Linked DNA regions of Homo sapiens: regions 1, 2, 4, 5, 6 and 7 are each linked to region 3. The links are contacts of gene promoters, found by promoter capture Hi-C in blood cells and fetal thymus (Javierre and others, 2016). All regions are on one chromosome and are shown on one strand. Each heading gives the region's core, a stretch centred on a gene start or on the middle of the fragment in contact. The rest is flanking DNA. Distances are from core to core; before and after follow the strand shown.

What was found. The method cuts DNA at HindIII sites, captures the fragments that hold promoters and counts their contacts. A CHiCAGO score of 5 or more calls a contact.
Region 1: the fragment with the promoter of CCNYL1 here is called in contact with the fragment with the promoter of PLEKHM3 in region 3 in 14 of 17 cell types (total CD8 T cells, fetal thymus, non-activated CD4 T cells and 11 more); the score reaches 15.0 in total CD8 T cells.
Region 2: a contact is called between a fragment that was not itself captured here and the fragment with the promoter of PLEKHM3 in region 3, in 2 of 17 cell types (total CD8 T cells and naive CD8 T cells). The highest score is 6.3, in total CD8 T cells.
Region 4: a contact is called between a fragment that was not itself captured here and the fragment with the promoter of PLEKHM3 in region 3, in 2 of 17 cell types (total CD8 T cells and monocytes). The highest score is 8.8, in total CD8 T cells.
Region 5: a fragment that was not itself captured here is called in contact with the fragment with the promoter of PLEKHM3 in region 3 in 1 of 17 cell types (total CD8 T cells); the score reaches 6.2 in total CD8 T cells.
Region 6: a contact is called between a fragment that was not itself captured here and the fragment with the promoter of PLEKHM3 in region 3, in 3 of 17 cell types (total CD8 T cells, M1 macrophages and non-activated CD4 T cells). The highest score is 6.3, in total CD8 T cells.
Region 7: a contact is called between a fragment that was not itself captured here and the fragment with the promoter of PLEKHM3 in region 3, in 1 of 17 cell types (total CD8 T cells). The highest score is 5.8, in total CD8 T cells.

The regions. Positions count from the first base shown.
Region 1 is chr2:207,710,197-207,712,896 of GRCh38, reverse strand. CCNYL1 (cyclin Y like 1) reads right to left here and starts at 1,257. Exons shown (of 10, transcript NM_001330218.2): 1 at 781-1,257. The coding sequence starts at 1,000. RefSeq lists silencers at 434-593, 606-715, 1,136-1,585 and enhancers at 457-1,453, 1,806-1,855, 1,866-2,065. The HindIII fragment of the contact is 3,390 bases long and covers 1-2,561 here.
Region 2 is chr2:207,521,590-207,524,289 of GRCh38, reverse strand. LOC124907970 (a long non-coding RNA gene) reads left to right here. Exons shown (of 3, transcript XR_007088060.1): 3 at 1-2,700. Among named protein-coding and RNA genes, the nearest start is that of CREB1, 7.0 kb to the left of the region's middle. RefSeq lists a silencer at 1,060-1,139. The HindIII fragment of the contact is 760 bases long and covers 1,040-1,799 here.
Region 3 is chr2:208,024,089-208,026,788 of GRCh38, reverse strand. It overlaps PLEKHM3 (pleckstrin homology domain containing M3), which reads left to right and starts at 1,262. Exons shown (of 8, transcript NM_001080475.3): 1 at 1,262-1,400. The HindIII fragment of the contact is 3,995 bases long and covers 308-2,700 here.
Region 4 is chr2:207,633,035-207,635,734 of GRCh38, reverse strand. No RefSeq gene overlaps it. Among named protein-coding and RNA genes, the nearest start is that of METTL21A, 9.0 kb to the right of the region's middle. The HindIII fragment of the contact is 2,102 bases long and covers 345-2,446 here.
Region 5 is chr2:207,597,870-207,600,730 of GRCh38, reverse strand. CREB1 (cAMP responsive element binding protein 1) reads right to left here. Exons shown (of 8, transcript NM_004379.5): 8 at 1-2,861. It also overlaps a transcript of METTL21A not described here. Among named protein-coding and RNA genes, the nearest start is that of METTL21A, 26 kb to the left of the region's middle. The HindIII fragment of the contact is 461 bases long and covers 1,317-1,777 here.
Region 6 is chr2:207,727,282-207,729,981 of GRCh38, reverse strand. All of the region lies in intron 3 of CCNYL1 (cyclin Y like 1), which reads right to left. Among named protein-coding and RNA genes, the nearest start is that of CCNYL1, 17 kb to the right of the region's middle. The HindIII fragment of the contact is 153 bases long and covers 1,252-1,404 here.
Region 7 is chr2:207,571,927-207,574,626 of GRCh38, reverse strand. All of the region lies in intron 5 of CREB1 (cAMP responsive element binding protein 1), which reads right to left. Among named protein-coding and RNA genes, the nearest start is that of CREB1, 43 kb to the right of the region's middle. The HindIII fragment of the contact is 2,076 bases long and covers 281-2,356 here.

The sequences.
Region 1 (2,700 bases), core at 8-2,507, 310 kb after region 3:
TTGCAGCGAGCCGAGATCGCGCCACTGCACTCCAGCCTGGGCGGGCGACAAAACGAGATTCCGTCTCAAAAAAACAACTTGTCTGCACCCCTGGTAATAACCTCTCACACCCTTCACAGTCATTTTACGCCCCTCCCCCCATTTTCTTTCTTTCTGTGTTCAAATTATAGTTGGAAGGAATAAAGCAGCTTCTTTCACGCCGACTTAACCTATTAGGAATACCATATAGTGTCTCCTATGGCAACCTCTATTTTGAGTCTAGATAAGAAATCCTCAAACATCTGGGTCTAAACTGTCGCGGGCATCAGCTATCTTCACGGATGGGAGGAAGGAACAATCAGACCCTTACCTGGTTCCTTCACTTAGGTACCATCTGGATGGGTTAAGGGAGGGAATGGGATGAGTACTCCGAAGTTGAGGTATTTGAGTTTCCATTGAGAAAAGGAAAACAATATACCCCAAAAGTCTTAGCAAAGTCCCACCAGACAATGAACAGAGCTACAAACAAGAAGGGCGGCGGACTAGAGGGTCCCACGCCGGCTTGGGAGAATGGGAAGCGGGAGCAAGAACTGGGCGTTACGGTAAGGAGGAGGAAAAGAAACTGGCCAGACGCAGCAGGGCAAGAATAAGGGGTGGGGACGCGAGGCAGAACCAGCCTTCGTCCCGGGGCCGGCTACCGGCAGGAAGGAGCCCGAGGCGGCGGATGCCTCCCGGGGGACTCTGGGGGAGGAGGCGGGCAGAGGTGAGCCCGAGGGCGGATGGCATCCGCCGCCTCCTTACCTTCGGGCATCTCGCGGTCGCTGATGTGCTGCAGGTGGTGGCCCTCGCCCTCTCCGAAATCCAACTCGGCAGGCTCCACCACAGCGGGCGCTACCGCCACCGCGTCCCCGGACACCGCCTCGTAGATGTCGGACGCGCAGTACAGCTCCGCCGACCCCGCGCGCCGGCCCAGCTTGGGGCTGGCATTGGGGGACACGCAACAGGTCAGCGTGTTCCCCATGGGAAGCCTCCGCTCCTCTCTGCCACCGCCTTCGCTCGCCCCCTACTCCGCCGCCCTCAACAGCCGCCCCCTCCCCCAACAATGGCGCGGCCGGCACCGGCAGCCCCGGGCTACGCTGGGGCTGCACCGCGCAAGCAGACGCCGCCTCGCCCGCGGTTCGCCCGCCCGCCCCGCGGCCCGGCCCCGGGCAGGGCTCGGGCCTCGGCCGCACCCCCACCGCCGCGCTGCCGCCGCCTCCCTTAAGCTGACTCGTCTGCGAGGGCGGTGACCAGCCCGGCTTATTTAAAAGGGGTGGGGAACCCAACAAGCGCTGTGAAGCACAGCCACTGCCGGGAGAGAGCGCGGCTGGAGCTCCTCCTCCTTCCGCCGCCGCCTACCGACTGAAGGCCGCTGGCCCTGGCCGGTGCCTGCCAACCGGAACGCGACCTGCGGTCACCTGGTTAGGAGGAACCAATCATGGTCAGAGTTCCCCCTCCGGCGCCCGCCTCGAAGCCAGGCACGTGACCTGCTGCCCCGCCCCCGCCTGGCAGCTGCCCAGCCCCTCACGCCGCTATCCCAGACTCGGGTTTTCATTCATCGCTGGCTGCTGGGAGCTTTCCGGTCCTACTGGAAGCGCACGGGCATTTGTAACTGGAAGCTGTGTCAATGATCTCTGTAGAAAGCCGTTATTAGTAAAGAGTTCGCTCCATTAGCAACTCTTCTTCCGAGTCTGACAGCTTTCGTTTGCTCACTAAACTTGGTTACACCCAAATTGTTAACTGTTTTTGTAACTCAGTGCTCCGCTCCTGTCTTCCAATGAGCGTTAGTTTTCACCTGCAACGTGATCATAGCAACCCTGGGGCCCTGGTCCTACTCTCCATAAAGAGTTGTGGCTGTGGGTCTTGAATGAGACTCGAGGACACGTCACCCTTCCACTTCCTCATCCATAAAATAGGGACCTAACTCGTCCCTGCCAACTCTGAAATGCTGGGACTCGCCAACTCCCTTTTCTTGCCTGTTTCTCTCCTCTAGGCAGGGACTTCCAGGTTTCTCTTCTTGTACTAAAAACAGCACAGAAAGCACGATTTTCTCACGCAAAACTGAGAACCATGCAGTGGGGCACCACAGTCTTGATTCCATGAAGATGAATAGTTACCATTTGGCAAGCACTATGTGCCAGACAGTGTTCCAACTGTGGTATATTTATTTAACCCTTAAAAACAATCCCGGCCGGGCGCGGTGGCTCATGCCTGTAATCCCAACACTTTGGGAGGCCGAGGCGGGCGGATCACCAGGTCAGGAGATCCAGACCATCCTGGCTAACACGGTGAAATCCCGTCTCTACTAAAAATACAAAAAATTAGCCGGGCATGGTGGCACGCGCCCGTATTCCCAGCTACTCGGGAGGCTGAGGCAGGAGAATCACTTGAACCCGGGAGGCAGAGGTTGCCGTAAGCCGAGATCGCGCCATTGCACTCCAGCCTGGGCGACCTAGGCTCCGTTTCAAAAAAATAAAACATAAAAATAAAAATAAATAAACAAATATATATATATACACACAATGTCACTTCCTCCCTAAGCTTGATTTCTACCTTTATTTTCTGATCATCATGATCAGGGACCCTCACCCTGAGCAGTCATGTAAGCTTGCGGAAGTAACTTAACTTCTGCGTCCCAATTTCTTCTATAAAACCTGCAAAATGGGATTGTTTTTTTTTTGT
Region 2 (2,700 bases), core at 170-2,669, 500 kb after region 3:
GAAAAGAAAGCACTAATCTCTTCACAACTATTTCTGGTCTGTTTACCAGTTACATTTCCCCCATGCAAATTAATGTATTGTATCTTAAAACTGATTTTAAAAACCAGAAAAACAAAACAAAAAAAATTTTGGCTTTTACTTCCCCTTCCAGCTACTGTCCCATTTGTTTTTGTTCTCCTTTACTATAAAATCCTTGAAAGAGTTCTATATTCACTGCCCCAATTCCTTTTCTCCTGTTTTCTATTAAAACTATTTTAACTACCTCTTGCCCCCAGCATTCCACTGAAATTACTCTCCAATTACTTTGTTATTTTGTTAGTTAATCCAATAGCCAGTTCTTTGTCTCTATCCTTGACCTATCAGCATTTGCCATAGTTGATTACTCCCTCCTCCCTTTAACACTTTCTCCACTTAGTTTATAGGATACTTCAGTCTCCTGGTTTTAGTCCTACACTACTAGTCACTGTTCTCAAACTCCTGCTCATGACCTCTTAATATTGGAGTGTCCCAGGCCTCTGCCTTGGAATTTTTTTCTTCTGTTCCTACCCCCTTTCCTATAGTGCTCTCATTCAGTCTTCTGTCTTTACATGTAAATATGCTCACAACTCCCAAGTCTTAAACCCAAACTTGTATTCCAAGTACCTCAGCATCTTTACTTGTATATTTAATAGACCTCTTCATTTGATCATATCCAAAACAAAACTCAGCATACCCCTTCCCCTCAAAAACTTTCTCTACCTACAACCTTCTTTATCTCAGTTATTGGCAACTCCATCATTTGATTGCTGAGGCCAACTCAGCAACTCTTTTATATCCCACATTCAGTTTGTCATCAAAGCCTATTGCTCTCTCTTCAAAATATATGACCACTCTCCCCAACTCCACTGATAGCAGCTTGGTCCAAACTACTGTCATCATTGACTAGAATTTTGTATTAGCTACCCTTAACATTCATTCTATTCTCAACACAGCAGCCAGAGTGATACCTTTAAAATATAGAGCAGACCATATTAAGACTGTTCAAAACTTTCTAAAAGCTTCCTATCTCACTCAGAGTAAAAGCACTTATTTTTACAATTAGTCCCTGTACACCCCCTTACCTCTCTGGTCTTAGTTCCTTCTGTTATTCCCCTCCATTCTCTGTTCAGTCACATTGGCGGCCTCCTTGCTGTTTCTCAAACACTTTGAACACACTTTCTCCCAAGAGACTTTGCCCTTGCTATTTCCTCTGCTCTGAATGCTTCTCCCAGATATCCATGTCTTCCTTGACTCCTCATGTCTTTGCTCAAATGCTCCTGTTTCTGTGAGGCCTTTCCTTACTACTCTGGTGGAAATTGATCACCGAACAACCACCTCTTTGCTCTTTTGCTCTCCCTATTTTCCTTTACTACTTATTTTTCTCCATTGCACATATCACTTTCTCTGTGCTATATATTAACTTATTTATTGTGTTTATTGTCTGCCCCCTCTAGGGCAGGGACTTTTGTCCCTTTTTTTTTCGCTGCTGTATCCTTAACATCTAGAAGAGTACCTGGTACACAGCTGGGACTCAAATATTTGTTGAATGAATGCAATTGAAATTTTGGATGTAATCTCCTGGATTAGCATAAGCAGGTCTTTCTTAGACTGATCACCTGTAGGTGCATCTATAAATATTGAGCTTCTGTATTACAGCCTGAATCATGGTGGCTCCACCAAGCTAACAGCTTCTTGTGGTGCCCAATTTCTATGTGGCTACACTCTGCCATTTCTGTCTGGGTTCCTTATAACCTTAAAGAGACGAAGACCTCTTTGAAGCTTTCTGGTCTTCCCATGTCACAGAGTCGGAACTGGAGAACTGATCAGCAAGATTCTGGTAGCTTGTAATTAGCATTTCAAGGGCCAAATGGTAGGATACTAGTGCTGCTGCATGCTCCATCTTCTCTGCAACTGAAAGCAATACCATGTAAACATGTCAGGTGGTCTCTTATTATCTTAGAAATTGCAAAAAGTCCAGTGGCTGGCACTAAAACCAGGAACAGTAACAAGCAAAGATTTATTGGCTGGGTATGGTGGCTCAAGCCTGTAATCTCAGCACTTTGGGAGGCTGAGGCGGCCAGATCATGAGGTCAAGAGTTCGAGACCAGCCTGGCCAACATGGTGAAACCCCGTCTCTACTGAAAATACAAAAATTAGCTGGGCGTGGTGGCACGTGCTTGCAGTCCGCAGCTACTTGGAAGGCTGAGGCAGGAGGATCACTTCACCCGGGAGGCGAAGGTTGCACTGAGCCGAGATCGTACCACTTGCACTCCAGCCTGGGCGACAGAGTGAGACTCTGTCTCAGGAAAAAAAAAAAAAAAAAGATGTATTGAGTGCTTGCTTTGTGCTGGCACTGTTCTAAACACCTTTTGATATATTACCTAATTTAATCCTCACAACAACCCAGTGAGGGAAATATTAATATTAGGAACATTTTACAGATGAGTAAACTGAAACCAGAGAAGAAACGTGTCTGTGGTCTTAGAGCCAGTGAGTGTCAGAGTCAGAATGTGAACCCAGGCACATTCTGACAGGCTTTAGAGCCTGAACTCTTAACCATTGTGTTCCACTGCCTGCTTACAGAATGAAAAGGGGAGAAGAACTTTACCTTGAAAAGAAAGCAAAATAACTATGACTCCATCACGGTAATTCTGCCATTCTAAAAGCACCTTCGTAACCAAG
Region 3 (2,700 bases), core at 13-2,512:
CACAGGGAGACCTTGCCTTTACAAAAAAAAAAAAAAGAGAAAGAAAGAAAAAAGAAGTTAGCCACGTTGTGGTGATGCGTGCCTGTAGTCCTAGCTACTCAGGAGGCTGAGTTGGGGGGATCCCTTGAACCCAGGAGTTCAGGGCTGCAGTGAGCTATGATCGTGCGACTGCACTCTGGCCGGGGCACAGAGTGAGATCCTGTCTCTAGCAAAACAGAAAAAAAAGTACCTCAAATTGCAGGGTTTAAAGAAAGCTTATTTAAACTTTGAATATCAACCAAAGGAAATTTTTTCTTAACTCAAAGCTTAAAGATTTGCTTATTAATCTTCTGGAGGGTGGGAAGGTGGGAAGAGGAATCAGAGTTTTAGATTTCTGTTTCATCCCTGACCCCTTTGACCTTTTTTTTTTTTTATCATTCCTTTGTTCATTCATTTATTCAGATATATATACATTGGGCCTGTGCTAGGTGCCTACTAGATGGTGGTGAGTGAAACTGAAATAGTGCCTGCCCTCAGGGAGTTTATAGGTGAGATGGGTGAGCGTGGGAAAACCAATAAAACTGATAAATAAGTGTGTACTTATAAAGTGAGAAAATGGCTAAGAAGTGTGCTATGATGGAAAACAGACAGGAAACTGCAAGGAAGGTCTGTCCAATCAGACCAGCATATCCCTGCAAAGCGACCACAGTCACTGCAGGTGGGATGTGGGCGGTCTTACCAGGCAGTCCTGCCCGCGTGCACACACACGCACACCCTATTTTGCTGGGAATCCGCAAGTGGGGGTGAAGACCTCACCTCAAAACCACCCCTTTTCAACCTGCGTAGGAAAGGACAGTGAAAACGGATTTTCACTGCAGCCCCAAAACCGGAAATGAGAAGCAATCTCCAGAATAGTCCCACTTTTGGAAAGAACTTATTTGAGTAATTAATTCCCTTAGACAAGGGAGCTGCTAAAAACCAGCCCGATCCTGACATGTTCTAAGTGACATTTTCCAATCGCAAACACCCATTTTGGCGTTGGGTGGAGCAGTGAGGAGACTCCACGACACACGCCATTGCTTTCACAATGTGTACAAGAGGAACTGTATATAAGAAAGCAAAGAAATAAGGAGGCCTGGCGGGTGCGGTCAGGCCTTGCCTAGCTGCCGGGTCCCTCGGGCAGGAAAGACTCGTCCTCGCGGCCTGGAACCTTGTGTGTCCGGCTCTGGCTGCCCGGGCCGCCGGCGGAAGCATTTCAGAGTGGGACCGCGAGAAGCCGCTTGTAAACAGAGCCGGGCCGGGATGGTCAGCGCCCGGGCGGGCTGTCACCGTGAGGCGGGCGGCAGGCTGCGGGAGTCAAGCCCCTCCAGGAGCGGACTGAAGGCCCCGCAGGTGAATGGAGAGTAGCAGCCGGGGCCCAGGTGAGCATCCGTCTGCTTCTGTGCTGCCTGGCCGGCCAGTTTGGGGGATGGGGTGGGGACGACTGCATTGTAAATATCCGAGCAGCTCCCAGGGATAGCAGTGATTTTGCTGTTTCTTGCATGCTCAGGTTTTTATTACGTGCTGGAGATTGTACCACACTGCAATGGCTAATGGGTGAGGGGAGATTACATGATGCATTGTCTGCTTATTTTTGTGAATCAGGTATGTAATAGGAGGAGAAAGTAGTTGAAATAGTAGGTGATCTTGTTGAGTGCGTTATTAGTATCCCTGCCATCCCCGCCTGGGGATTATAAAACCAAACCCCAGCAGAGCTTTTAACCTACATCAGGCTGGGGCTTCCAGAAAACGATTGTTCTTTCTGTCGACTCTGTCCGTTTTTAATGTATAGTAAATGACACCACATGACTGATGACAAGCATGGTTTGGTCTTGTAGGAAAGAATTATTAAGCTAAAAAATCAAGATAAGAAAATCTCACACTCATCCCTTAAACAAAAATAAATTACTACTGAGATATATATTTGGATGACAAATTGAGACTGGTCTGGATGTATACCTTGCAAAGCAAGACAAATTTGAATTTACCAGGTTAAACTGAGATTGAGCCATGCTGTTGTAAACTTATTTAGAAGTTTATTTCTCTCTTCTTTTTTCTTCCTTGGAAGGGACCAGAGAGAAACAGCTGAATTTTTTTCTCTATATTTTAAGTAATCGTAGTGAGTTGTGATTTGTATTTATAAAGTATTTTATTATAAAATACTACATGTAAATTATAATTGGCATACTTAAAATACAAGGCAGTTTTTGACTGACTGACTTCAAGAAAATGCCTTAACAAAAGCTGGGCTATATATCTAGTCTCTAAAAATATCAGTAGACATTTGTAACCTTGGTCACATAGTCTTTTAGACAGGAGATGAATATTAGGTTAAATTGCACCTACAATAGATAGATATACATAGAAGAAATGATACTAATTCCTGATGAGTTTTTCTTTACAATGAATATTTTTACAATGTCATGGTTTATAGCAAAAACTATAAAGCCAGACTACTTCAGTTTGAATTCCTGCTTGGTCACTTCCTAGTTGTGTAATCTTGGGCAGTTTACTTAGCGCTTCTGTTTCCTAATCTGTAGAATGGGAATAATAATAGTATTGACCTCATTAGGGTTTTTATTATTGTTATTTTATTTTATTTTATTTTATTTTATTTTATTTTATTTTGAGACAGGGTCTTACTCTGTCATTCGGGCTGGAGTACAGTGGCGTGATCATGGC
Region 4 (2,700 bases), core at 146-2,645, 390 kb after region 3:
GGCTCAGTCCAGATCTTTCTGCCTCTAGGAGCAGGCCTGTGGGCAGAACCTGCACTCTCCTCTGCTCCTTCATGCTATAGGAATTACATGCGAGGCCTGCCCCATCCAGTGCTGGATGAGTCACCTTAGCGTTCTTCGTTCTTCGTAGGTCCATCTGCCTGCAGATATAAGCCTCGCCCTCCAACTTCTTCTGTCTCAGTAAATAGAGGGGATGTTTTTGCCTTCAGCTTTAGTCGTTGTTTTATTTCTCAGCTTGTTTAGAACCCAGAGAAAATAAAGTGAGAGGCTGTTTACTGGTGCTCCGTCACAGACCCTGACAGTATCGTAAGTAAATGAATGAAGCTTGTGGGGACAAGACAACAAGCAGGGGAGGGGACCGCGGCACACTGAGGGGAGACCATAATGTCCAAAGGAAGAGCCAGCTTGGCTCTAGCTCATTGCCATCTTGTGGGCATTTGGACCCATGTTTGCCAGATATTTCAAAATTTTCAAAGAAAGCCATTTCAAATAATTATCTTAATTTTACTATCTTGATTTTTATCTGACATCTTGCTATGGTTTGAATGTGTTCCCCCAAAAGGCATGCATTGGAAACTTAATCAGTGTTGGGAGGTGGGGCCTAATGGAGGTATTTAGGTCATAAGGCTCCACCCTCATGAATGGATTAATAATGATTATAAAAGGGCTTGAGGGTGCAAGTTTGAACTCTTGCTCTCTCTCACTCCTTCTTTGTGTTTCCTTCATGGGATAGCACAGCAAGAAGGTTCTCCCCAGATGCCAGCCCCTTGATCTTGGACGTTCTAGCCTCCAGAACCAGAAGTCAATAAATTTCTGCTCATTATAAATTACTCAGTCTTAGATAATTCTTTTTTTTTTTTTGAGATGGAGTCTCGCCCTGTCACCCAGGCTGGAATACAGTGGTGCGATCTTGGCTCACTGCAACCTCCACCTCCTGAGTTCAAGTGATTCTCCTGCCCCAGCCTCCGAAGTAGCTGGGATTACAGGTGCACGCCACTATGCCCAGCTAATTTTTGTATTTTTAGTAGAGACAGGGTTTCACTATGTTGGTCAGGCTGGTCTCAAACTCTTGACCTCGTGATCTGCCCGCCTTGGCCTCCCAAAGTGTTGGGATTACAGGCGTGAGCCACCTCGCCCAGCCGGTAATTCTTCTATAGCAGCACAAAATGGACTAAGATACATCTCCTTACTTTCAAATATTGACACTAAACTAAAAAACAAAACACCATGAGAGCCAAGTCTGCATGGGACACACAAAACACATCTGTAGGTCAAGGCTTTTTGGAGGCTGCCAGTCGGGGACACTGCCTCCATCCTGCCCTGGATCCTCAGCACTGCATCCTCTCTGGTCACATTAGCATGTAACTCCGCTCCCACTCCTGTACATACCACCAGGAAAACCTGAACTCAAAATGCCCTGTGTCACCTGGGAAGAGGCACTGCTCAAATACATGAGCTCTTGGAATTACAAGCTAGCACTTTCACTTGACTATTTACTATTCTCTTCTTGATGTTGTCTTTTGGTTTGACTTACTTAAAATGTACCTGCTTTTCTAATTACACACAAATTAACCTATAAATTATGAAAAGGCAAATGGCTTCATACCTTTTCTTGGAATCATCAAAAGATAAGACAGTCAATAGCTTCTTACCCAAACATGTACTATACCTGGGAATATTATTGAACCCTAGGTTAATGAAACACAAATAATGAAAGTAACTACAAATTCTTCAGCATCATTAACTCAAAGGTATCTAATAAGTTGAATTCGCATTTAAACACTTTTGGAGTGAGGTGGGCAATAATTTGATGTGATGTATTGTAACATTCATTCATTCATTCATTCATTCATTCATTCAACAAATAGTTGTCCAGCCGTTTCCAGCTGAAAGCCACAGATGTGACTCTAAAACCCAACAGAACACAAGTCTGGAAACTTCTCCCCTAGCTGCTGCTTCTATTTTGTTGTAGAACAAGAGCATCAGGCATGGCTGCAGTTGTCCAGGAGCTGTGATCAAAAATGCGATTTCATCAGCAAAATGAAAAATCCAAATGTAGCTATTTATGCTGCATATTCCCTCAAGGTAGCGCTGAGCAGTTGTCTTGTTTTTTCTCTCTGCAGTCAGGTCTTACGGAAATACTGAGAAGCTAGACAAGAACTTAAAAAAGACAGTGGTGAACACAGTTATACCAAGACTCTGTCTATGGTTGTCTTTCTTTAGCACCAGCTGGAGCTTTATTCCTTAAGGCTTTTTGAATATCCTTAAGCCAACTCCTTAGCTGTATGGTAGTGTCTTCAGGGCAGCCAGCCTCACCCTTGAGGGCACCCAGGGTCTGTGACTCACACAGAGAGTTGTGTAGTGATGATGCAAAAATACCTCTCCTGCAGGGTGTAAGTTGTTAGTGGAGTTTGGGTAGTTCAAAGCTTTCATTCTTCTGTTTGACTTAATCTTAAGAGTTATCTTGTGCCACTTACCCCTTGCTCCTGGCTGGTCAGTTGACAGTTTCTTCTGCCTGGGGGCTTTTGCAGTTTCTGTTCCCTTGCTTGAAATGCCATTCCCTTGGCTCTTCAAGTGGCTGTTTTCTTCTACTCTTTTAAATTTCCATTTAAATGTCACCTCTTCAGAGCCCTCTCCTTTCCCCAGCTCAAATGGCCTGCCCTTGTGTATTAATGGAGATAG
Region 5 (2,861 bases), core at 298-2,797, 430 kb after region 3:
TGACTGGTATTGTGCTTTCAGAGACTAGCACTGCTGCTGACCTACCATCAAAACACATTTTCTGACAAAATCCCTGCTCAAATGAAATGCCAAAATTCCTCCCCCAGGATGATTTTTGAAAAAATCAGTGGTTCCTTTAAAAAGCTATCTTCAAAATGTTCTTACCACTGTTATAGCTGCCACAGACAAAGCATACAAACCAAATACTTTTGGGGGAGAGGCTTTCAAGTGACTAGTAACATATTTAAAAGTATCAAGCCAAAGAAAACTAATAAAAAATAAAATACTTGGAAGAAAATTAGAAGATAAAATCAATCATGAGTGCTGGAGTAATGCAGTCATAGAAACTACCAGAAGGAATGCAACAGAACACACAAAAATGTAAAATTTCATCTGACCTCAATATACTATAATACTCAGCATTCCTGACTTAAGAGCTCTCAGAGCTTTAGATTATATACTGTATGTATATATATATATATATATATATATGTACACATATATTATACAAATGCCACCCCCCCCAAGAATATCTAAATGAAGAGAGCACCTATGACAATATTATGGTTGCCAATATGGTACTTGAGTTTGAAAAAGAATGAACTTAAAATTGTATCTGATAGCAATTATTTAATAATGAACACATTGGATCTAGCCCTTTCTAAGCCACTTTTCAGTTAAACATTATCAAAGCTTGAAAACTCATAAGAGTAATATATCAAAAATAAACCCCTCCCCACTTCATTTTTATTAATCTGTCCTATAGATAAAAGTGCCACATGGCCCTATATTTGCAAAGTGAGCAATATCAAACTTGCTATTTTCTAGGCAAATCAGTAGCATATGTACAAATTCCTATGATGACATTTTTATTCCCTTTTGGCCAATATAAAGAGAAAAACATTTATTACTGGTAATGTGGCCACATATGTTCTTGGCTACAAGGTTTTTAAAAATTATGTCATTTTCTTAATAAAGATTCTCAAAGTTTCATGCTTACAAACAAACCTCCCCACCATTCTTGCATTAAAAAAAGAAAACTGCACAAAAGATGCTTGATTTTATCTTTATAAACTGAAATCTTCAAGTTTCACCAAGGGTCTAAGACAGATTTAGCAACAGGATACATTTCTCACCTCATCATTAAGCAACTGACTTCAAAACCAGTGCAATCATCCTCAAGGTATGAAGGATAAGGTCTTTATAACTTATAAATTCATCCAGCTCACATGAATGTGATTGCCTTGATTTATCAGGGACTAAGAGGACCACCAACTTCCCAGTAAGTAGAAAGCCTGAACTTTTGAAAAAAAGCTTTAGAGAATACAAACTGCTAAACATCAGGCAATTTTTCATTTATAACACTTACTTCATTCAAAATGTTCGATTCGACATTTTGACTCAATAAATAATTCCAACTTGTGAACATATTTGTGACTTTGCTTGATTTCTGTTAAACCAGTTTTTAAAAATGACATATCTATGCGGTTACACAATTTTTATGCTATAACTTTCCCCATTAGCTCAGCAGGACAAACATCAAACTTTATAGTTGTTTGAAAGCCTTCTTGAGAATCTGGTGAACTGTCCAAACATAAAGACTACATCACTTAATTCTTAGAATGATGCTCCTTCATAAACTCTGTTCATCCTTGAAAAAAGACAATGGTTTGTTACAAACGAAAATATACCATTTACAAATGTTAATTAAAATCTTATTTTAAAATGGATCCAGCAATTAACACTTAAATCTTCATATTTTGTTGTTAAACAAGCTTGACTTTCTTAAATAACTCTTGACTAAATATAAAACATTAGTTTTCTAAGTGTCTCAACTCTTTTTTAAAAGGAATTTCCTTCCCAAATGAGACATTTTTTTTATTTTTATTTTTTGAGATGGAGTCGCCCAGGCTGGAGTGCAATGGTGCTATCTCGGCTCACTGCAACCCTCTGCCTCCTGGGTTCAAGCAATTCTGCTGCCTCAACCTCCTGAGTAGCTGGGATTACAGGCGCCAGCCACCACGCCTGGCTAATTTTTGTATTTTTAGTAGAGATGGGGTTTCACCATGATGGCCAGGCTGGTCTTGAACTCTTGACCACAGGTGATCCACCCACCTTGGCCTCCCAAAGTGCTGGGATTACAGGCGTGAGCCACTGCGCCCGGCTCCAAATGAGAAATTATAACCTAACATTATGTCAGTTTCCAATTTTTAAAATCCACCTTAGTCTTTTTTTTTTTTTTTTAAGAGTAACTGTTAGATTTATCGAGCTTAGTGAATAAAATGAGTAACAATTAAAAGTGGTATTGAAAACAATGTATGATATACACAAATACAGACTGTTTTAATCAGGAATTAAAATTATAAAATGACAAAGGCTATACAGCATATTGGAAAGCTAAAGCAGAACTAATAACTACTCTTTTTACAAGAGAACAAAAAAATGTTTTGTAAGAATGACAATCCAAATATTGCAGTACAGCAGTCATTCAAATATGTCTGAAAATAACTTTCCTTGTGCACATCTAACACTGTACTTTTTATATCCTTACAACTTCTTTCATTTAAAAAATTCACTAGAGATTCTCTGTTAAATTGTTAATATGGAAAATATTTAAAATCAGTATTTTTCTACATGTAACATTTCATAAACAAATATATATCACTTTGCTTTATTTGACATCTTGAAGGCTTTCTTGGTGGTGGTATGTAAGTGCAATGGGCAACAGTAAATTAGAAATATCTTTTTACGTAAATGAGTGACAATATAAATATTTTTGAAGGTGAGGACAATAACATTTATTTAAAAATCTTGTTATATAACTCAAGGGATTGGTTTACTGATCAGCATTTTACTAAGAA
Region 6 (2,700 bases), core at 79-2,578, 300 kb after region 3:
CAGCACTTTGGGAGGCTGAGGTGGGTGAACTTGAGGCCAGGAGCTCGAGACCAGCTTGGCTAATACGGCAAAACCCTGTCTCTACTAAAAAAAAAAAAATTAGCCAGGCGTGGTGGCACACACCTGTAATCTCAGCCACTCAAGAGACCGAGGCACAAGAATCACTTGAACTCGGGAGGAAGAGGTTGCATCTTGGCAGAGGGCGCTGAGATCACGCCACTGCACTCCAGTATGGATGACAGAATGAGACTCTCTCAGAAAGAAAAGCAAAGGAAAGGATAGGACAGGAGAAAGGAAAGGGGAAAGGAAGGAGGAAAGGAAAGGAAAGGAGATAAAAAAGAAGAGAGAAAAGACAAGACAAGACCCACCAGATAACAGACTGAGGTCTTCTAAATTAAAGGCTAGCTTGGCCTCCAATGTCCTTGCAGTAAGAATCATCAGTTAACAAAAGTCCTGCTTCCAATTAGAGAAAGCCAGAGACTATCACACGTGAGGGAAGCCTCCAACAAGAGAGAGCAAAACAATAGGAAAAAGGAATGCATGGGAGTGGTGAAAATTCAGGAGCAAATGAAAACTTAAAAAAATTCTTAAAATACCTTCAAAAAGATGAAAGATTCAATAGAATGGTTAGAGCATAAAGTAAAAGAATGCCCAAGAAGTAGAACAAAAGACTAACTAGAAAATGGGAGAGTGCGGGGGGGTGGGGGGGGTGGGGTGGGGGCGGGGGGGGGCGGAGACAAGTAAAGATCAATGCAGAAACACTGGTCTAATAAGCTCAGCATCTGAATAGTAAGAATATCAGGAAAAAGAAGGAACAAAGAAAACAAAATTCTCTAGAAGACATAGTCTACAGACTTATTGGTCCCAATAAAAAGAAAAGGTCTAGGCCGGGTGCGGTGGCTCATGCCTGTAATCCCAACACTTTGGGACGCCGAGGCGGGCAGATCACAAGGTCAGGAGATCAAGACCATCCTGGCCAACATGGTAAAATCCCTTCTTTACTAAAAATACAAAAAAATTAGTCAGGCTTGGTGGCACGCCCCTGTAGTCCCAGCTACTTGGGAGGCTAAGGCAGGAGAATTGCTTGAACTTGGGAGGTGGGGATTGCAGTGAGCTGAGATCACGCCACTGCACTCAAGCCTGGCAACAGAGCAAGACTCCGTCTCAAAAAAAAGGAAAAAAGAAAAGGTCCATAGCAAGCCATATTAAGCAATTTCAGGATCTCAGGGATACAGAAGGCACTAAAAAGCTTCCGGAGACATGTAAAAACTGGTTACATGAACTGTATCACACAATGGCAACAGATTCAAGAATACTATAATGAGAACATAATAGAGAAATGTCTTCAGAACTATGAAATTTAGAGTGAACCTAGCATTTTATACTCTTATGAAATAGGAAGCTTTGGCTAGGTGCAGTGGCTCACACCTGTAACCCCAACACTTTGAAAGGCTGATGCAGGTGGATGGCTTGAGGCCAGGAGTTTGAGACCAGCCTGAGCAACAGGGCAAAACCCCATCTCTATGAAAAATACAAAAATTAGCTGGACATAGTGGCACATGCCTGTAGTCCCAGTTACTCGGAAGGCTGAGATGGGAGGATCACTTGAGCCCAGTAGGTTAAGGATGCAGTAAGCCAAGACCACACCACTGCCCTCCAGCTTGGGCAACAGAGTGAGACCCTGTCTCAAAAAAGAGAAAAAAAGAAAAAAAAAAAAAAAGGCCAGGTGCAGTGGCTCATGCCTGTAATCCCCACTTTGGGAGGCCAAGGCGGGCAGATCACCTGAGGTCAGGAGTTCGAGACCAGCCTGGCCAACATGGTGAAACCCCGTCTCTATTAAAAATACAAAAATTAGCTGGGCGTGGTGGCAGGCGCCTGTAATACCAGCTACTTGGGAGGCTGACACAGGAGAATCGCTTGAACCCGGGAGGCAGAGGTTGCAGTGAGCTGAGATCGCACCACTGCACTCCAGCCTGGGGGACAAGAGCAAGACTTTGTCTCAAAAAAAAAAAAAAAAGAGAGAGAGAGAAAGAAATAGGGGAGGTTTTCAGACAGGCTAGATCTCTAAATATGTCTGTCTATGGGCCCTTTCCCAGGAAAATGTACTCCGGTAAAACTAGGAAGGATAACAAGATAGAGGGAAACACAGAATCTAGGATTTAGGGGACCCAACACAAAAGGACAGTTATGTGAGATCCCAGATGACTTCAGAGAGATATCCCAGGAAAACAGGCACAGAACAGTCTTAGGAAAAACCCGTCTATATTTGAAGAGGATGACAAAAGGCTGAGGAAAGCTGTCTCCAAGAGAAAAATGGAACAGATGTGTTTTAGTAGATGGAAAACATTTTTGATAGGCATGTGGCAAATGCTACAACATTTGGGGGGAAAAATAGCTGTTAGAAAACAGCCAAATGAATATAGTCAGGAAATTAATTCCACACACACAAAAAAAAAGACATGAAAGCAAGGAGACCAGCCAAGGGTTACTACTGCATTTGGCTGTGTGAGCTAGTGGAGGCTAGGAAGAGACGTGCAGACACGCCCAGATTTCAGAAATATTTAAGAGAAACAAAGGATGTACAAGGAGAAGACAGTGAGAATAATATATGACTCAGCAGTGAATAATATCTGTATAATCATAACAATGTAAACATCAATTACTGATTTAATTAAAAATGTGATATATATGGGAGAAATA
Region 7 (2,700 bases), core at 69-2,568, 450 kb after region 3:
GTCATTTCTAAATTATTTAATACATATCCAAGCATTCTCATATAGAACCCTTTGTTGTTTATGCCCTAATTAGCCACACCTGTCATTCATTTGTTAAACAATAAATCAGTCAACTTTTGCTCATACTAGTAGATATTTCACTTTATGAAAAACTAAATCACCTTTATGCTACAGTACATAGAAAAATTTAATTTAAAAATTAGATGATTTATTTGGAAGAAGCATTTTTAGATAGGTGGCAATATCCTCTCTAGACAATTCTCCCTGTAGGGGTCAAGCTTTTCAGAAAGAGAAGGACCAAAAATCACAATATCACATATAAAACTACAAAACTGATTTTAACTGAGTAAGAAAAAAGTAAACAATGCAGGAAAGTCAACATGTCTGATTAAGCATGTTACTGTCCATTAGAAGGGAATTAGTTTGGGATCAGTTATCCACCAGCTATGGGAAATAACATCCTGAGACATCTGTACATGGAAAATTGATTACTGCCTCATCAAGAAGTAAGAAGAGTTAATGGCTACAGTGTGATTAGTTTAGCAAAATGACACTTGTGAAAATTAAAATGCTGGCATATACACTGGATCTAGTTTAGCTAATCCCAGAAGTTTTACTTATCTTAGGCAGGGAGAAAAATGAGTAAGAACTATTCTAAGATTAATTTTGCATGATTACTTGAAAGAATCAGAAGGTTAACAGAAACAAATCACAATTTCTCATTTAGAGTTAATGAGTGAATCCTACTGTATTTAACATACCACTTTCTTCTTGGCTACAGAGCAGTGAATTCAAGGTGGGAAGAAGAAAGAAATAGTAAACCATATATGACAAGACTGGGTTGTAGTTTGAGTTCCATCACTGAACAGTTTTTTGTTTTAATTTTTTTCTTTTGAGACAGGGTCTTGTTCTGTCTTCCAGGCTGGAGTGCAGTGGCAAGATCACAGCTCACTGTAGCCTCCAACTGGTGGGCTCAAGTGATCCTCCTGCCTCAGCCTCCCAAGTAGCTAGCACAGGACATCAGGCCCTACTAATTTTCTAAAGACATTTTTTTGTAGAGACAGGGTTTTGCTATGTTGCCCAGGCTGATCTTGAACTCCTGGCCTCAAGCAGTCCTCCCACTTTGGCCTCCCCAAGTGTTGGGATCACAGACGTGAGCCACTGTGCCCAGCCATCACTAAACTGTTATTTGATTCTGTTCTCTCTTCTCTAAAAACAAAAGCATCTGGGTTCTAGCCACTAAGTACAATTGTTGTAAATATCAAATGAGGTCATGTATATGAAAATACTTTGGAAACTGAAGTCTAATCCTACTGAACACAGTTTTTCTCTATAATGTTTATGTATACACTTTATTATTCCAAAAAGATTTGAGATAGCTTTCAATAAAACACAATTCATTAAAACAAAAATAAAAAGACAGAAGTCAAGTAACGGATGTATCCTTAGTTATATAAAACAATTGTAGAAGAAAATCTAGACTAAGAAAAGAATACAATTAAACAGAAAGTTAGCTAAGAATCTGAGTTGCCAGAATAAAGAGGGAAACATCATGAGTCATAGTTTTATTTACTGAAACAAAAAAATTCAAGTTCAAAATGACAGATACACATTTTCTATCTAAGAGCAGAATCACTAATAAGATTTTACTATCTGGGACACTGAACTAATAAGTAACAGATAAATCTAGTAACAGCATGAATTTAATAAAATAACCAATTTAAGGAAGGAGTGGAAATTCATGCCTCCACCTGGAAGGGTACTTGCGGAGGATATGCTTTAATTTGATAATTCCACTCTTTTTTTTTTTTTTGAGATGGAGTCTCGCTGTTGCCCAGGCTGGAATGCAGTGGCGCTATCTCGGCTCACTGCAGGCTCCGCCCTCTGGGTTCACACCATTCTCCTGCCTCAGCCTCCCGAGTAGCTGGGACTACAGGTGCCCGCCACCTCGCTCGGCTAATTTTTTGTATTTTTAGTAGAGACGGGTTTTCACCGTGTTAGCCAGGATGGTCGATAATTCCACTCTTAGGATATTTATGTAGCACTGTTTGAAACAATAGAAATGTCCTAAATGTTCATCAGCAGGAGAATGTTTAAATAAGTGCTGTATTTACACAGTGAAACACAATGCAGCTATTAAACAAAATATATAACTATGTGTGTTTATATATCTATGGTGAATTCTGACAACCATATGTTCATTTTATAAGTTAAGAAATATAAATGTTGCTGTATATGTATTTATTATATTGCTCTTAATGAAAATCAAGAATATAATGTTAAATCAGTTCCATCAAAGCCAAAGCCATGTGTACATATACAGAGAGGACACAGGATAAAAATAATGAACAAAGCTTTAAAAATTTCAAAGTATTAATCTCTCTTTTTTTTTTTTTTTTTTGAGACGGAATCTTGCTCTGCCACCCAGGCTGGAGTGCAGTGGTGTGATCTCAGCTCACTGCCAGCTCCGCCTCCTGGGTTCAAGCAATTCTCCTGTCTCAGCCTCCCGAGTAGCTGGGATTACAGGCGTCCGCCACTATGCCCGGCTAATTTTTGTATTTTTAGTGGAGGCAGGGTTTCACCATGTTGGGCAGGCTGGTCTTGAACTCCTGACCTCATGATCCACCACCTTGGCCTCCCAGCGTGCTGGGATTACAGGCGAGAGCCACGGCGCCTGGCTCAATCTCTTAAAACTAGCAA